Linked DNA regions of Homo sapiens: regions 1, 2, 3 and 4 are each linked to region 5. Evidence: promoter capture Hi-C in 16 types of primary human blood cells and fetal thymus (Javierre and others, 2016). All regions are on one chromosome and are shown on one strand. The core of a region is centred on a gene start or on the middle of the fragment in contact, and the rest is flanking DNA. Distances in the headings are between cores, read along the strand shown.

The links. The method cuts DNA at HindIII sites, captures the fragments that hold promoters and counts their contacts. A CHiCAGO score of 5 or more calls a contact.
Region 1: a fragment that was not itself captured here is called in contact with the fragment with the promoter of SIX2 in region 5 in 2 of 17 cell types (erythroblasts and megakaryocytes); the score reaches 5.4 in erythroblasts.
Region 2: a contact is called between the fragment with the promoter of SRBD1 here and the fragment with the promoter of SIX2 in region 5, in 1 of 17 cell types (megakaryocytes). The highest score is 5.0, in megakaryocytes.
Region 3: a fragment that was not itself captured here is called in contact with the fragment with the promoter of SIX2 in region 5 in 8 of 17 cell types (M2 macrophages, megakaryocytes, M0 macrophages and 5 more); the score reaches 7.9 in M2 macrophages.
Region 4: a fragment that was not itself captured here is called in contact with the fragment with the promoter of SIX2 in region 5 in 2 of 17 cell types (monocytes and endothelial precursors); the score reaches 5.6 in monocytes.

The regions. Positions count from the first base shown.
Region 1 is chr2:45,558,678-45,561,726 of GRCh38, reverse strand. The region is part of intron 10 of SRBD1 (S1 RNA binding domain 1); the gene reads left to right. Among named protein-coding and RNA genes, the nearest start is that of SRBD1, 51 kb to the left of the region's middle. The HindIII fragment of the contact is 3,389 bases long and covers 1-3,049 here.
Region 2 is chr2:45,609,237-45,612,540 of GRCh38, reverse strand. SRBD1 (S1 RNA binding domain 1) reads left to right here and starts at 1,274. Exons shown (of 21, transcript NM_018079.5): 1 at 1,274-1,322. RefSeq lists an enhancer at 1,454-1,623. The HindIII fragment of the contact is 4,677 bases long and covers 1-3,304 here.
Region 3 is chr2:45,581,023-45,584,198 of GRCh38, reverse strand. It overlaps SRBD1 (S1 RNA binding domain 1), which reads left to right. Exons shown (of 21, transcript NM_018079.5): 6 at 2,389-2,506. Among named protein-coding and RNA genes, the nearest start is that of SRBD1, 29 kb to the left of the region's middle. The HindIII fragment of the contact is 2,593 bases long and covers 188-2,780 here.
Region 4 is chr2:45,539,549-45,542,920 of GRCh38, reverse strand. The region is part of intron 14 of SRBD1 (S1 RNA binding domain 1); the gene reads left to right. Among named protein-coding and RNA genes, the nearest start is that of SRBD1, 70 kb to the left of the region's middle. The HindIII fragment of the contact is 2,821 bases long and covers 294-3,114 here.
Region 5 is chr2:45,007,711-45,010,840 of GRCh38, reverse strand. It overlaps SIX2 (SIX homeobox 2), which reads left to right and starts at 1,389. Exons shown (of 2, transcript NM_016932.5): 1 at 1,389-2,290. The coding sequence starts at 1,731. RefSeq lists enhancers at 317-916, 1,921-2,694. The HindIII fragment of the contact is 4,145 bases long and covers 1-3,130 here.

The DNA.
Region 1 (3,049 bases), core at 360-2,859, 550 kb before region 5:
TTAATTTTTCAGAGTGTAATTGATCCTCACAAAAATCTATTTAGTTGGTAGAGCAGATTTTGTAGCCACCACTTAGCCAGTGAGAAAACTGATACAAAGAGGTAAGTAAAGTGGCTTCCTAGCAGCTAGGAGATGTAAATTTTGATAAAGTTCATCACCAGCTAGTTCTGTGTAACTTTAGGATAAAGAGATTGCTAGGAATGATACTTAAAAAGTTAGATGACTTGTTCTTTGAAAATAAGTATCATGGATTTTGGAAATCAGTTATCTCATTCAACACAACTGTTTTGTTAATTCATTAAAAGCAATGAAGGATCAACTTGCTTAACAACCAAATACTACTAACTAAGCAACCATTAAGTAAAACAACAGTCTAAATGTTAATCAATAGGTAAATTGCTTAAGCCAATTATGTTATATCCATATGGTGGAATTCTGTGCAGCCATTTTGAAAAAGTGGAAATAGAGCTGAAGTTGAAATATGAACATGTCTTACTAAGTTAAAAAGACAATTTACAATTAGCATTTATTTATAGTATGATTTCACTAGTGGCAAATAAGTGTCTTTATATTACTGTGTATATTTTTCTATATAGTTTCTTTTCTTTTTCTTTTTTTGAGAGACAGGGTCTCACTCTGTTGCCTAGGCTGGAGCACACAGGTGCTATCATAGCTCACTACAGCCTCAATCTCCCAGACTCCAGTGATTCTCCCACTTTAGTCTCCTGTGTAGCTGGGACCATAGGTGCATACCGCTGGCTAAACTTTTTTTTTTTTTTTTATTTAAGAGATGAGGTCTTGCCATGTTGCCCAGGCTGGTCTTGAACTCCTGGGCTCAAGCGGTCCTTCTATCTGAGCCTCCCAAAATGCTGGCGTGACAGGCGTGACCCACCATGCCTGGCTAGTTGTCATTTTTTATGAATGCTTATTTCCTTTATAAATAAGCAAATAAATTCCAATGAAAGGAAAGAGGAAATGTATGCCTAAAAGAAATGCTAGATTTAAAAAATTAGGAAATTAGATAATTTAAGATATGACAAAACTCTAAGATAGTTTCATAGAGGAAACTCCTAAGAAGTAGATATATTTGAGTTTGAATTCCAGTTATATTACTTTCTACCTCTGCACCTATGGGCATGCTACTTAATTTCTTTCTCAGTTTTGTCTATCCTTAAAATGGTAATACTTTACTTGTAGATTTGAGAGAATTAAATGATAATCTACGTAACTGTATAGCACAATGTCTGGTGAAGAACAGGCCTTTGATGGTATCTGTTATTACAAAGTAGTGGGATTATTGTGCTAATTCTTTTTAGAAATGTTTTAGTAAATCACAAAGACAATTTCTGGCTTATTTTTCTGTAAATATTCATAATACTCAGTATCAGAGTCAGTCCTCAGTAGTTAAAGAAAAAATATGCTTTTAACCTATTTATTATCTTTAGACTAAGTAAATGTCAAGGAATTTTTTTACAGTGATTTATTTTTCCATGGCTTATTTATATTTTATTTAGTTCTCCAATTGAAAAATTTGTAATATTATTTAGCCTACAATGTAACATGTTACATCATTATGGCATAGTAATATAATTTTCAGTCAGGTTTGGAAGTTTTTCTTTTTCTTTTTTTTCTTTTCTTTTTTGAGACAGGGTCTCACTCTGTCTGTCACTCATGCTGGAGTGCAGTGGCATGATCTTGGCTCACTGCAGCCTTGACTTCCCAGTTTCAAGCTGTCCTCTCACCTGAGCCTCCTGAGTAGCTGGGACTACAGGTGCGCACCACCACACCCAGCTAAATTTTTCTTTCTTGTAGAGACAGGGGTTTTGCCATATTTCCCAGGCTGTTCTCAAACTCCTGAACTCAAGTGATCCACCAACTTCCGCCTCCCAAAGTACTGGGATGAACCACCCCAGGCATGAACCACCATGCCCGGCCTGAAACTTTTTCTTCATTTAGATAATTCCAAGAGCTGAAACACTTTTCTAGGACCTAAAAAATTATTCTCAAAAGAACTTTTTTTTTTCCTTTAAGCACATGTGAATGACTAGAAATGCTTACTTGATGAATCTTCTAGTTCCTTTTTTTACTCTCTTTTTCCCTATTTCTTCACCCTCTTCTGTATGTACTTATCCATTCAAGTTATGTGCTAGATTTTGGAGATTCCCCTGTAAATTAGACAGATATACTGCTTATCCATGATGACAGCGTAGTTTAATGAGAACAACACTGGGAAAATCATTACGAGTATGTTGAGATTATGAAGGAAAAGTGTAGTAAGAAGAAGAAAAGTGCTTGTAACAGAGCCCTGAGTAGTGTGGACTTGACAGCTAGGTAGGTTGGAGATAGAAGGAGAAGGAAGAGAAGTGACATGGAATGAAGATTGAGATGTTGACACAGGTTAGATCATACATAGCTTTCAGGTATGCTAAAGATTTTTTTCTTTTAAGGATGGTGGGAAGCCAATAAGGATTTTAAATACAGGAGTGTGATGATCAGATTGCATTTTAAGATCACTCAGGCCACAGTGTAGATAATTATTTGGAAGGAATCAAGAGTAGATATGGCACAAGAGATTATGGTAGCTTAGACTAGGGTGGTAGCAATAGGGAATAAGTAGATAGATTTGGGCAATATTTAGGAGGTAGACAGGGGCAGGACAAGGTATCTGATTAAATGGTGGGTGGATTGGTTAGGGAGAGGTGAAGTGAAGCATGAAATTTGTGTGGCGGCTGGGCGTGGTGGCTCACGCCTGTAATCCCAGCACTTTGGGAGACCAAGGTGAGAGGATCACCTGAGATCAGGAGTTCAAGACTTTGAGACCAACCTGACCAACATGGCGAAACCCTGTCTCTACACAAAATACAAAAATTAACCAGGCATGGTGGTGCATGCGTGTAACCCCAGCTACTTGGGAGGCTGAGGCAGGAGAATTGCTTGAACCCAGGAGGTGGAGGTTGCAGTGAGCCGAGATTGCGCCATTGCACTCCAGCCTGGGTGACAAGAGTGAAACTCCATCTCAAAAAAAAAAAAAAAAAAAAAAATAATTGTG
Region 2 (3,304 bases), core at 25-2,524, 600 kb before region 5:
GCTGTATCTGGTTCCTACTCTTGGTCGTAAATTCCTCCAGGGCAGGACTTATGTCAAAAGACTTTGCAGTATATTAGTTCACCTTTACCCTTACTACCTCTGCAATGATTGGAATGTCCCCTTCAAAAATTCAAGTTGAAACTTGTCATTGTAATAGTATGAAGAGGTGGGACCTTTAGGAAATGATTAGGTCATGAATGAGTTAATTCCATTATCACAGGAGGGTTAGTTATTTCGGGAGTCAATTGGGTTCACATGCCTCCCCCACCCCTACCCCAGTATGATGCCCTCCATCATATTTTGACACAACAATAATGCCCTCTGTCTTGGACTTCCCAGCCTTCAGAACTACAAGCCAAACAAATCTCTTTCTTTATAAATCTACCAGTCTATGGTATTTGGTTACAGCAGCAGAAAATTGACCAAGACAACCCCTTACCATAAACCTGAGTAGCAAATGCAACATCAAAAGTAGGTGAATAGTAAGTAGTACATTATTGTTGTTGATTTCTATGATCTGGTTTCTCTTCCCACAATCCTGAACGGTAAGGTGTTCTCTAGTATTTCTTCAGGACCATAAATTGTGAAGGAGACTGTGATTGTAGTAGACAATTCTAGGCCTTCTGGAACCATCACTAAAGGCAACATACGACTGTGCTAATTAAAAGGAAAAAAAAATCCCTAAACAATCTCGGAAACTGATCTTTCCTGGCCAACAATCTCAGATATAGAAGATTAGATTTACTAAATTTAGAAAGAATCCTTTTTTTTTTCCCCCAATCACAAAAATTATCCAGTAAAATCTATGCTCACTTCCGGTAGATCTGCAACAAGGCACGGTCACAGGTCATTTCAATAACTTGCTAGGCTCTTCAGTACTCAGAGTCCCTGGAAATAAGTCATTAGCAGTGGAAAGCTGCTTTTTAGAATTTTCTAAAACAAATCCATGGGGTTTTGATCTGCTAAATTCGAATGTAGACAACAGCAGCCTTATTTCCCTACTTTTATAATCTAATTTATTTGGCTGTATCTGTGGGCTTAAGAGTTTAGTGTTCTTGGTAAATAACACGTAAAAAAAAAGTCATTTTTCATTTCTACGAACCAGCCCCACCCCGGCGCTCCCTCGGGATCCTCGCTCTAGCCCCGCCTCCGTCCAGCCTGGCTCCGCCCCGTTCGGTAGCGCCGCGCCTTGGAGGTCTGTGGCTAACTTGGTCCGGAAGAAGCGAGGCGGACCTTCTGGCGTTTGAAAAACTTCCGGCGGGAACCGGAAGGTGCGGTGGCACTCACGGAATCTCGGGTCTTCTGACGTGCCGGGCGGGAAGGTGAGCTGTGCGTGCGCCTTGGCGGTCGTCTTGCGGGTTCTCAAGAGCCCGGCGTCCGGGCTCCGGGATCTTTGGGGCCATTAAAAAAGTTCTGAGCGCTCATTTGGGCAATAACACCCCTTTTTTAAAAGTGAGAAGTTCATTACATTTTACTGTCAGCGGTCTCTCACAACCGACCACCCGAAAACCCCTCCTAGCTACCTCGTGACACCTCTTTTCAGCCAAATTGCTGCAGCTCTTAGCGCATAACAGACATAGAAAAGCCTGGGCAAGCCTGTTTTTTTTTTTTTTGAGACGGAGTCTCCCTCTGTCGCCCAGGCTGGAGTGTAGTGGAGCGATCTCGGCTCACTGCAAGCTCCGCCTCCCGGATTCACGCCATTCGCCTGCCTCAGCCTCCCGAGTAGCTGGGGCTACAGGCGCCCGTCATCACACCCGGCTAATTTACCTGGATTGTTTTTATACCTAAAATTATCGGAGGTGGGAGAGGAAGCACCCTTTTCACGGTCATGGTGGCCCTGTCTGAATCAACTGCACCTTCTGTAGTGCGCCTGGCATGTAGGAGGCGCTCAGTAACCGGAGGAAAGGAATGAATTGGGAACTCTCTAGGCAACTTTCCTCGAACCCCTCACGTGACATGTCATTAACATATTGTGTGTGGAATGGGAAACGAGACTAGTCTTGGTGTTCCAGGCACTGGGCTATAGTCCTTTGCCACATATCTTTCCCCTTTGAGTAAACTGTTTCACCTCATTGGGTCTCAGATTTCTGAATATAGCGGGACTGTCTGATCTCAGGTTCTTTCAGCTCTAGTATTTTGTTTTTGTGACTTGGGAATCTGCTAACATTCAAGCACTCTGTTGGTCCTTCATGGAAACTTGTTTAGGTGCTTCTTAAGAAATTGTCCTCCTTTGTTTGCCTTCTTGAATTTAAATTTTTTTTTCCAATTTTAATTTAGTATTTGTTAGTGTGCACGTCCTTTTGCCCCTTTGTCCTGATTTGCAGTCGTCCTAGTTTAGTGGCTCTTCCCTTAGTAACATCATAGCAACCTCCAAATTATTGGTTTGGAATATGCTCATGTGCCTACAGTGATTAAGATAGTTTGAAAGGAGGGAAAAATCCCAAGTCACTGAAGAATAGGAATATTCTTATGTGCCATCACTTCTTCAGAAAGAGATGAATGCAATGTGTGGCATTGCCTAAGAGTGGTGGAAAATAAATGTATATTCCTCTGTAGAGACCATATTTGTACATATTATGTTCATTTAATAGTTGTAGGGCATCTGTTAAGTGCTAGGTTCTATGATATGGAAGTGAATAAGGCACATGCATTTCCTTCTTTCATGGTATTTACTCTCTTGACAGCAGTGCAAGCAATAAACAAGTAAAATAAAAATAATTACAGATTGTGTTATAACCTACTGTATACAGGAAGTAAATAGGCTCCTTTTAAAATATAATTGAGAAACCTATTTTAGGCCTGAAATGTTAAGATCTAAGGGATGCAAGGAGCCAGCCAATTGACAAGCAGGGGGAAGAATACTCCAGGCAGAGAGTACCTGAGGTGGGAAAGAATGTTATGACAAGAGCTGAGGAGCTCCAGCAAGTAGTAAAGGTGGTTAGAAAGGTGAGCAGGGCTCAGTCCGACAGGGCCTTTTCAAAGGCCTCATAAAAATGTGGCTTGATTCTAAGTGAAGGATGGGGTGGGAAGTAATTCGTTGTTTCTAAAGCATATTCTAAATGATCTTGAGTTGATAAGTGGAGAATGAGTTGCAGGGGCAAGAGTGGAAGTAGGGAGGGCAGTTAAGAGGCGAGTGTGGTAGTTCAAGTGAGGGAGGTTGAGGACTAAAGGCTCACTGAAGATCGTGGAGATTCAAGACATTTTGGAGGAGGATCTTATGTGACTTACTAATAGTCTGGATATGTGAGATGAAAGAAAAAAAGATTTGTAACATTTTGACTTAGCAAATGGAACTTTGGAGGAT
Region 3 (3,176 bases), core at 235-2,734, 570 kb before region 5:
AGCTGGTAATTTGAGTTTTTACGTAACAAATTTCTAGGCCAAACAAAACCACTCTTGACCACACCTAGAAGGCCAGCAGTTTGCAAATTCTGAAGTAAGCTTTCTGTTTGGTTGAAGGCAAGGTAATTAAGAAAGTCTGAGGGTTTTGGATCTGAAATTGGAGAAAGCCTCACAAGCAAGAAAAGCTTGCTTAAAAAATTAAAGGGTAGTCTAACAATATTTGGTTGTATGGGAGACAAATAGGAGCTGTATATCAAGAATATTATTATTTTCTTTTTCTTTAAAAAACCCTTCTATTGCAAAAGAATTCCATTCTCTGGGTTTCTATGAATAGGGGAATACATTGAATATTAGTAGAGGAGTGAATATTCCTTGAAGTAAGTGGGGGCATTGACTGGAACTTAAGAGATCTTTTTCTATAATACAGAAATTTCTTTCTGGTAATGAGATATGATCTTTATTTTTTCTTGAGCTCAGCATTTTCTATAACTAGAGCATTGATTTTCAATTTGTTAATTGCTACCCCTACATGAGAAGTAAAACCAATTTAATAAGTCATACCACTTAAAAAATGAAATAGTGAATAGAAAATACAAGAGTACATTTATGTGGTAAAGGCAAATATTGTTTCATGAAATGTTTCAATTATGTAGCATCTATATGTATGTATACTGGGTTGCAACGTAAAACATTTTTAAATTCACTGTTGAAAAGTGAATTAAAGAGTATGATTCTGGATAGTAAGAAAAGTTTTCTGTATTTTTCTCTAAAGATAATTCTCTTCTTCCTTATATGCAGGCTAATAGGACAAAAGGAATTGGCTTTTTGTTAAAATGACCTGGTAGGCTTTAGCCCTTGAAAACAGTCTTGGGCTACCATGACTATAGAAGACATACAGGTTGTAATCTAAGTACTGCATATTCTTCTTTTTAATTTATATTCTTCTCTTTAATTTATAGTCTTCTGCCTTTAGTTTTTTTTTTTTAATTTACAAGTAGATTTAATTTTCTTTTCCATCGATCATTTTGAATAAATCATATTATCATCTCTAACTTTTGCCCATCATTTTAGCAATACCATTATTAGGCAGATTCTATAAATAGGAGGTAATACAATAGGATGAGAAGCATTAACTGTAACAACAGGATTGTATATTCACAGTGAAAACCTGTTGTAAAGTGGGGGAACTACTGTGCCCACCCTTCCTTTTGTCGTTAGTTGTTTAGTGATCCCTGTAAATTGATTCCTGGAATCAACTTTTCTACATGGAATCCTGGTTCTTTTTAGTGGGGAATGGTATTTGGAAACCAATTATGGGTGCTAGGTGTGCCCATCCTGAGCAGTGATACTCCAGTAGCAATGAGCATATCTAGTACCTATACCTTGGTTTTTAAGTATCATTCTTCTGATTCCAGGGCTGGGGCAGGGAAACTAGAAGATAAGCCTGAAATATCATATGCCAGAGAATAAGGAAGTGCTCGCAGAATGACAGATACATGTCAAAAGGACACAGAAGCTAGCTTGAAGGGGTTACTTTTGGCCAAATCTGGAAAAATTTGAACATTAAGATAAATGATAGCAATGGATTGTAGCACTAAGTAAAATAAAAAACCATTAAATCTATAGTGATATAAATAAATCAGTGAATAAATTCAAAGTTTAATGAGGAATGGGATAATTATATAGTCTCAAAGTACCTCTCCACAAAATACTTATAATTACAAGAGGAATAAAGAGTACCTGTGTCTTGGAGAAACCCACAGATACTACCTTAATCAAATGATCAAAGTTAATTAGTAATGAGACAAATCAAAATCATTTGTCACCTAATAACGTGTAGTAAGAACACAGTATGACTTCTATGATATTTCTGCCAAAGATGCTCCATCGGTATTTAATTGTGAGGAAACATCAGAGAAACCCAAGCTGCAGGACATTCTACAAAATAACTGTCCAGTAGCGTTCAAAAACATCAAGGCCTTATCAAGGAGAAGAAAATCAAGGAGAGACTAAAATATTGTTTTAGCTTGAAGGAGACTGTAGTTGCATGCCAACTACATGTAACCCATAATTCTTAACTGAATCCACTATAAAGGATATTATTGGGACAGTTGGTAAAACCTGAATGAGCTCTGCATTAGATGGTAGTAATATATTAGTGTTAATTACCTGATAATGATGGTTATTTTGTGGTTATGTAGAAGATTTGTATTTGTAGGAAATCACACTAAAGTGTTGGAGTGCAGGGATGTTAACTTATTCTCAAACAGTTCAGAGACAATAAAGTTCCTTTTACTTTACCTGCAACTTTTCTGTAAGTTTGAGGTAGCTTTGAAAAGAAAGTTTTGACATACAGTTTTGGTATATTACAAAAGTTTCTCTTTTCAGGGCTGTTGCAAAGAAAGTTCATAGTACAATCCAGAAAATTAAGAAGGAAGGGAAGATGTCTGAGTGCTTGTTAAAAGCCATGCTGAATTGTAAAACTTTTGAAGAACTAGAACACGTGGTAAGGAATCCTTTTTATCTTTTAATGTAATACCTGAATATATTGCAATTTGGGTCTTCTTATGATTAAAGAACACCAAGAAATAAAAAGCTAACGTCATTAGCCACCATTATTTAATGCAACAAAATATTTATTCTTTATTCAATAAATATTTATAGAGTGTTTTTTTTGTGCTAGGCACTTGGGTTTACAAAGATGAATAAATACATAGTCTTTGTCTCAAGGAATTTCCAGTCAAGTAGGGAAGGACAGTAGATTATACAAACGTGAAGCTTATCAGAGAGGGCTGAACTAGAGATCCAGATGTGGATGTCTTCAGCCTGTAGTTGGTACGTGAAACCATGAGAATGGAAGAACTCAAGAAGTGTTTGTTAGCAGGTCAGGATTGACCACTGGAGGTTACCACCTTTTGAAGTGTGGATGGAGGATGTGAGAGCATAAGGAGGTAGGAAAAAAATAGAGAAGTATGAGGAGAATCAGGAGATGATGGTGCCCTGGAACAGCAGGGAAGAGAGTTTTAGATGGAGGTCATGATCAGCAGTTATGTGTAGCAGAGAAGTTTGGCAGAATGAAGACTGAAAAAAATATATATATTTGGTAATTAGGAGATCATCATGGATTTTTGTGATATCATTTCCTGCAAGGTATGTGAGAAGAGAAGCCAGATGAT
Region 4 (3,372 bases), core at 455-2,954, 530 kb before region 5:
ATGATTATTTTGAGATTTCATCCTTGTTGCTGCAGAAACCAGTGGTTCTTTTTATTCCTGAACAGTATTCATTGTTTGGCTGTATCACAATTAGTTTATTCAATCACCTGTTGATGGATATTCGAGTTGTTGCTAGTTTTTTGCTACTACCAATAAAGCAGCATGAGCATTCATTTACAAGTCTGTATGGATATATGCTGTCATTTCTCTTAGGTAAATAGCTAGGTGTGGAAAGTCTGTGTTGTGTGGTATATGGTATACGGTACATGTTTAACTTAAGAAACTGTCAAGCTTTTTCCCAAGATGGTTGTACCATCTTACTTTCCCACCAACAATGTATCAGAATTCTAGTGGTGGCAGTGGCAGCCCATCTGGAGCAGCTGCTGGGAAGACACTGGCTGCAGCAGGGGAGTTGTGGCTTGGGTTGCATGCTCCACAGGTGATGGGAGCCCCACCTCCTACCAGGTTAGTGGGGCAGAGGAGCCCCATGCTCCTGGGCGCAGTTGCAGCTGCCCAGCTACAGCTCTGGACCTGGGCATCCCTGCACTCTCAGGGGCCTGCGATGCCCCTTCCCCTGCAGGCTCGGAAGTACCTGCTCCACCTCCCTGGCCTCTCCCTGCTCCCAGCACCCGCTCCAGAACAGAGCAAAGTTGTGGCCGAGCCTAGGCACTGTTGCGACCTGGACAGGTGTGCCTGCACTCGAGGCAGTGCTGACACCAGCCCCTGCTGCCTCAGCCTGTTCAGGATTTTGGGCACCAACCAACACAGGAGTGAGGCTGGGGTGGGGTGATGGCTAAGGGCAGCTTGGCACAGGCCTACAGGTGTCCCCTGGCACAAACAGCCCATGCACCATGGATGCATGCTGATGGTGGGAGGCAGACATTCCTGTGCAGCAAGGGGCAGGTCTCAGTGAAACCCCCACCTCCAAGCCAGGGCCTACGTGAAGTCTGGAGGCCAGGTTGCCAGTTCTGGGTGGAGTCTGTGGCCGGGAGTGTGAACTTATGGTACTTTTTCCAGACATGCCCATGGCTGCCCATGGACCAATCAGCATGCATTCCTCCCTTCTGAGCCCATAAAAACCCTGGACTCAGCCAGACTGACACAAATGTTGGGACTACCAGCTATGGGAAGGAGCCACCCACTTTGGGTCTGCTCTCTGCTGAGAGCTGGACACTTGTCAGGAGACCTGTCTGCAGAATGGGGCTACCCACTGCCCATCTCCTCTCCACTGGGAGCTGGACACTCATTGGGATAACCTGCCTGCAGAAAGGGGCTACCCACTGTGGGTCTCCTCTCTGCTGAGAGCTAGACACTCATTGGGACAACCTGCCTGCGGAAAGGAGCTGCCCGCTTTGGGTCTTCTGAGAGCTGTTCTGTCACTCAGTGAAGTTCCTCTCTGCCTTGCTCACCCTCCAGTTGTCCACATACCTCATTCTTCTTGGACATGGGACAAGAACTCTGGTTCCACCAAATGGTGGATCTGAAACAGCTGTAACACAAACAGGGCTGAAACATGCCCTCCTGCCTGCCATGCTGCAGACCTTGAGAAGGAGAAAAGAGCTGCAGCCCTTTGGGGAGCCCAGACCTAGGTGCTCCCTAAGCCAGGGCTATGGCACCCTCTTTGGGACTCTCTGGTTCCTGGCATCTCCCACCTTCCAGGAACCACTGTGTTCCCCTCGTCCAGATGTGGGTGTCTGCAGTGGTAGTTGCATGTGATATATCTGGTCCAGCCACAGCCTTGCATGGCACCACCTGCCCTGCCACAGCTGGCACGCCTAGCTCTGCACAGTGGCCGGACCCTGTGCTCACTCACACACCGCTCACCGCACTACGCCTGGCTCACCCTTGGCAGGGTGAGATCTGGGCCAGTAGCACCAGCCAAGCACAGCCTGCCAGCTTGAGTGAGTGGAACGAGCCCAGGGGGCCTGAGCAAAACTCGGACAAAGGCACCACTGGCCACAGAGGTGTCTGGCTGGAAAAGTGACACCCTAAGGATTCCGTAACACTAGTTTCTCTGTATCCTCAATGGAATTATGAAGTTATGGTCAGTGCTTGGTATGGTCAGCCTTTTAAATTTAGCTGCCCTAGTGGATATGTAGTGATATCTCATTGTGGTTTTAATCTGCATTTTCCTAGTGATTAATGATCATGAGCATCTTCATTTGCTTATTTGCCATCCATGTATCTTCTTTAGTGAGGTATCTGTTCAAATCTTTGCATTTAAAAAAATGGATTGTTTTCCTTGTGATTATTGAATAAGAGTATTTTTATTTATTCTGAATTAAGCCCTTTGTCAGGTATATGTTTCATAAACATTTTTTCCCAGTCTGTGACTTTTCACTTTTTTTTAAACAGGATCTTTTGAATGGCAAAAATTTTAGTTTTGAGAAAGTCCAATTTATCAATTTTTTGGTATAGTTTTTGCTTTTTGTTTTCTATTCTGGAAATTTTGGCAAAATCAAGGTTACTGTGATTTTCTTCTGTTTTGTACTAGAAGTTTTATAGTTTTAACTCATTAAGTCTGTAATTTAATTTTTGGAGAATTGACATCCACTCATTTAATTTTTTTTTTTTTTTTTTAAGATGGACTCTCTCTCTGTCGCCCAGGCTGGAGTGCAGCAGCACAATCTCAGCTCACTGCAGCCTCTGCCTCCTGGGTTCAAGTGATTCTCCTGCCTCAGCCTCCTGAGTAGCTGGGATTACAGGCGCCTGCCACCATGCCCAGCTAATTTTTGTATTTTTAGTAGAGACAGGGTTTCACTGTGTTGGTCAGGCTGGTCTTGAACTCCTGACCTCATGATCCGCCTGCCATGGCCTCCCAAAGTGCTGGGGTTACAGGCGTGAGCCACCATGCCTGGCCCATTCAATTTTTAATTTCAGTTTTATTTTTCATCTAGAAGTTCTGTGTTTTTCAAATCTGCTTGATGATTCTGTCACTTTTTTCCTGGCTATATTTTCAAGCCTGTCTTTTTTTAAACCATGTTAAATTTTGCATTTTACAATCTGTGTAATAATTCTAGAATCCTTGTAATTTTATTTCTGCTATATGCTGTAATTGCTGGTTCTGCTTTGTGATGCTTTCTTTCCTTTTTTGTTCAGTTCTTAAGGTAAGCTTTTTATTTTGGTGGAACTTTGTGGGAATTCATTTAGGCCTGGACTGATGGTAAGTTGCTTCAAAGAGGATTTGCATTTGCTTCTGCTACACTCCCTTAGATACTACCAGTTTGGGATCACTTAAATTAAATTCTCGGCTTGAGTTTTTTTCTGACCACCCAGGTAGTGTGAATTTAGGCTGCAGACCAGACAGATGGCTTATAGTTCCATATTCTCATCAGTAGTTCCCCGCTACATCAGCCCGTGACTGAGTTTGAG
Region 5 (3,130 bases), core at 140-2,639:
AGTGGAAAGGACATGTCCGGGAAGGAGCTAAGCCCCGGGCTTTTCAAAACGTAGAGCAAGAACACACCCATCCTCAGTTCTCCCACCTTTGTGCGAGCCCTTCTCCCACAGGACCAGCACCACATGTTTCCATTGGCACCCTGACAAAGAAGCAAAAAACAGGACCCCCTTTTAAAGCACCTCATCCCGGAGCTCAGCGAGCCGGTTCCCAGGCTGGAGTGGCCAGGAGCCGAGCCGATCCCCAGCGGCGAAGCGGGAGGACTGGGAATCTTGCCTCCGTTCTCCTCCCCGACCACCCACCGGGGAAGCCCCACCACCGTCCTAGAGTCCCTGCCGTCGCCCCTCTCCCCCGCCCCGGTGGGCAGACTGCGGGTCTGCGCCGTCCGGGGTTCTGCGTCGCAGCTGCCGGCCGGAGTCAGCTTCCATAGAGGCCACACGGAACTGCCTGGCGCTCCTCGGGCTGTGGGACCCGTGGGGTTAAGTCTGAGTCCCCGCCCGGCGAGGAGCAGAGAGCGCAGAGTTGGGGCGGTACAGGCCGCCAGGCAGCCGGCGGGGCTAGGAGAGGGAGGAAAGGCGGGATCCTCCGGGAAGTCGATTCTCCGGCGTCCGCCTGCGGCCACTGCCAAATCTTCCCCATTTCTTTCGTCTACTCCCTCCCCTTTTCCCTCGAGGACCGCTGAGTCCAGAGTTTCTAGGATGGGGGTGGGGCGCTGTCAGCAGAAAAAGCCAAGTCTTTGGGCGGCACCCGAGCACGTCCAAACTCTCCCATCCCACTGGCCTGCGCCGGGGTAGAATGTGCCCGGTGAACAGAGAGCCTGGGAGGGACGCGGTGACCTGGGGAGAAGGGGAACCCTGTAGGGTCTGGGCGAGGCTGCAGAGCCCTCTCCTAGCCAAAGCTGCCCAAACTTTCTTCCCCTGGAGTCTCCTTCCACCCCTCTCCCTCCCCTTCCTCCTGGACACCCCCTTAAACGGTCTCCGCCTTCCCTTCTCTCCTCTTCTCTCCCCACCTCGATCCACCCCTTTTCGTCTTCGCCCGCTCCCCCCGCTCTCCTGTCCTCCTCCTCCCTCCCTCTTTGGGCATCCGCCCCGTCAATCTCCGCCGCCGCCGGCCCCAACCCGGCCCCTCTCCGCCTCCCAGGCTCTCAGAGCGCCCCAGGCTCCAGTAGAGCCGCCCTCAGTTCTGCGCGGAGCGGGGCGATCTGTCAGCGGAGCCGGCCGGGGGGAGCCGCCCGGCCCGCCGAGGCTCGGGTTACCAGTGACTGACAGCGTCTCCATGGCGAATAATTTGACTCCGACTATTGTCTGGCGCTGGCAGGCCCCGGGTCAGATAACCGGACCAATCAGGGCGCGGGCCGCCGCGCCTCATGCCCGCTTAGAATAATATTATTAAGAAAGCTGAGAGCCAGCTAGACGGGAGGGAGAACGAGTGAGAAGCGAGCGAGGGAACGGCGGGCGGGCGCGGAGCATGCGGAGCGGCGCCCCGGGCGGCCCCCGGGCTTGGGCGAGGGCTTGGGCCAGGCGCGCGGGCCGTTGGGGTTCGGAGCTTCGTGGGACCCGCGGCCGGCGCGGGGACGTACGGCAGTGACTCGGGGCTCACCGGGGGCCAGTGCCGGGCCAGGGGGCCAGCCCCGCCCGCGTCTCGGCCCGGACGGCCCGGCGAGGAAGCTCCCATGCGGGACCGCGCGGCCCGGTGAGGGCGCGCGCGGGCGGGCGGGGACGCAGCCGGCACCATGTCCATGCTGCCCACCTTCGGCTTCACGCAGGAGCAAGTGGCGTGCGTGTGCGAGGTGCTGCAGCAGGGCGGCAACATCGAGCGGCTGGGCCGCTTCCTGTGGTCGCTGCCCGCCTGCGAGCACCTTCACAAGAATGAAAGCGTGCTCAAGGCCAAGGCCGTGGTGGCCTTCCACCGCGGCAACTTCCGCGAGCTCTACAAGATCCTGGAGAGCCACCAGTTCTCGCCGCACAACCACGCCAAGCTGCAGCAGCTGTGGCTCAAGGCACACTACATCGAGGCGGAGAAGCTGCGCGGCCGACCCCTGGGCGCCGTGGGCAAATACCGCGTGCGCCGCAAATTCCCGCTGCCGCGCTCCATCTGGGACGGCGAGGAGACCAGCTACTGCTTCAAGGAAAAGAGTCGCAGCGTGCTGCGCGAGTGGTACGCGCACAACCCCTACCCTTCACCCCGCGAGAAGCGTGAGCTGGCGGAGGCCACGGGCCTCACCACCACACAGGTCAGCAACTGGTTCAAGAACCGGCGGCAGCGCGACCGGGCGGCCGAGGCCAAGGAAAGGTACGAGTAAGTAGACCTTCTTCGGCGCCAGCTCCCCGGGGCCCAAGGGAGGGGTTCGCAGGGCTTCTGCCGGTCCCCCGGAGAGGCCTAAACTGGGCCCCCAGGCCCGGCCACAGCCCAGCGGCAGCCCGGCCTGACTTGGACGATGCTTAGGCCTTTCTATGCCGGAGACCCGGCGAGCAGGGATTTGTCTAAAGCGGGCAGAGCAATTCAGGAAGTTGTCAACTAACTACTCGGTCGCTAGAGGAAAAGGGTGGAGAAGCAGAGAGCTTCGGGGCAGCGCAGAACTGTGGGCCTGTATCCCCTGTGAGGCAGGCACAGTAGGTCTGGTCATCCTCAGGACAGAGGGGTTTGAGCCCAGATGAAAGGGGATTTGCAGATTTCTTGCTGGTGGTGCTTCCCGGCATTTCCCCCCAGCCTTAGCTCCAGGCCAAAGTGTGATGGGGTCGGGACTGGGGCTGGAACTTCCCTAGAATGACCTGGATGGGGAAAAGCCAGGCCATGAATTTTCGTTGTCACATGGAGTTGAGAGCGGGTCCTTTATCTCCTTAGAAAGGATCCAGAGGTGAAAGGGAGGAAGTGTCAGTTCTGGGAGAGAAGAGACGCATGCCCTGTTTTCTGCCTTGCTAGAGATAGCCGCCCTTCCCTGGCACTCCAGGCCCTTGATGCCTCTCTCCTTAGGCCCTACCTCTGATGGGTAGGTCGGAATGTCTGCGGTGAGCTGAGAGGCACAGAGGGGCTGGGAGTTGGATGTCCTCAGGTAAACCAGGACTTCCTGAACCAGCCTAAAGGTTGATCATTAGGCCCTTGCCACTGCCTGCCCTATAACCCCTCAGGACC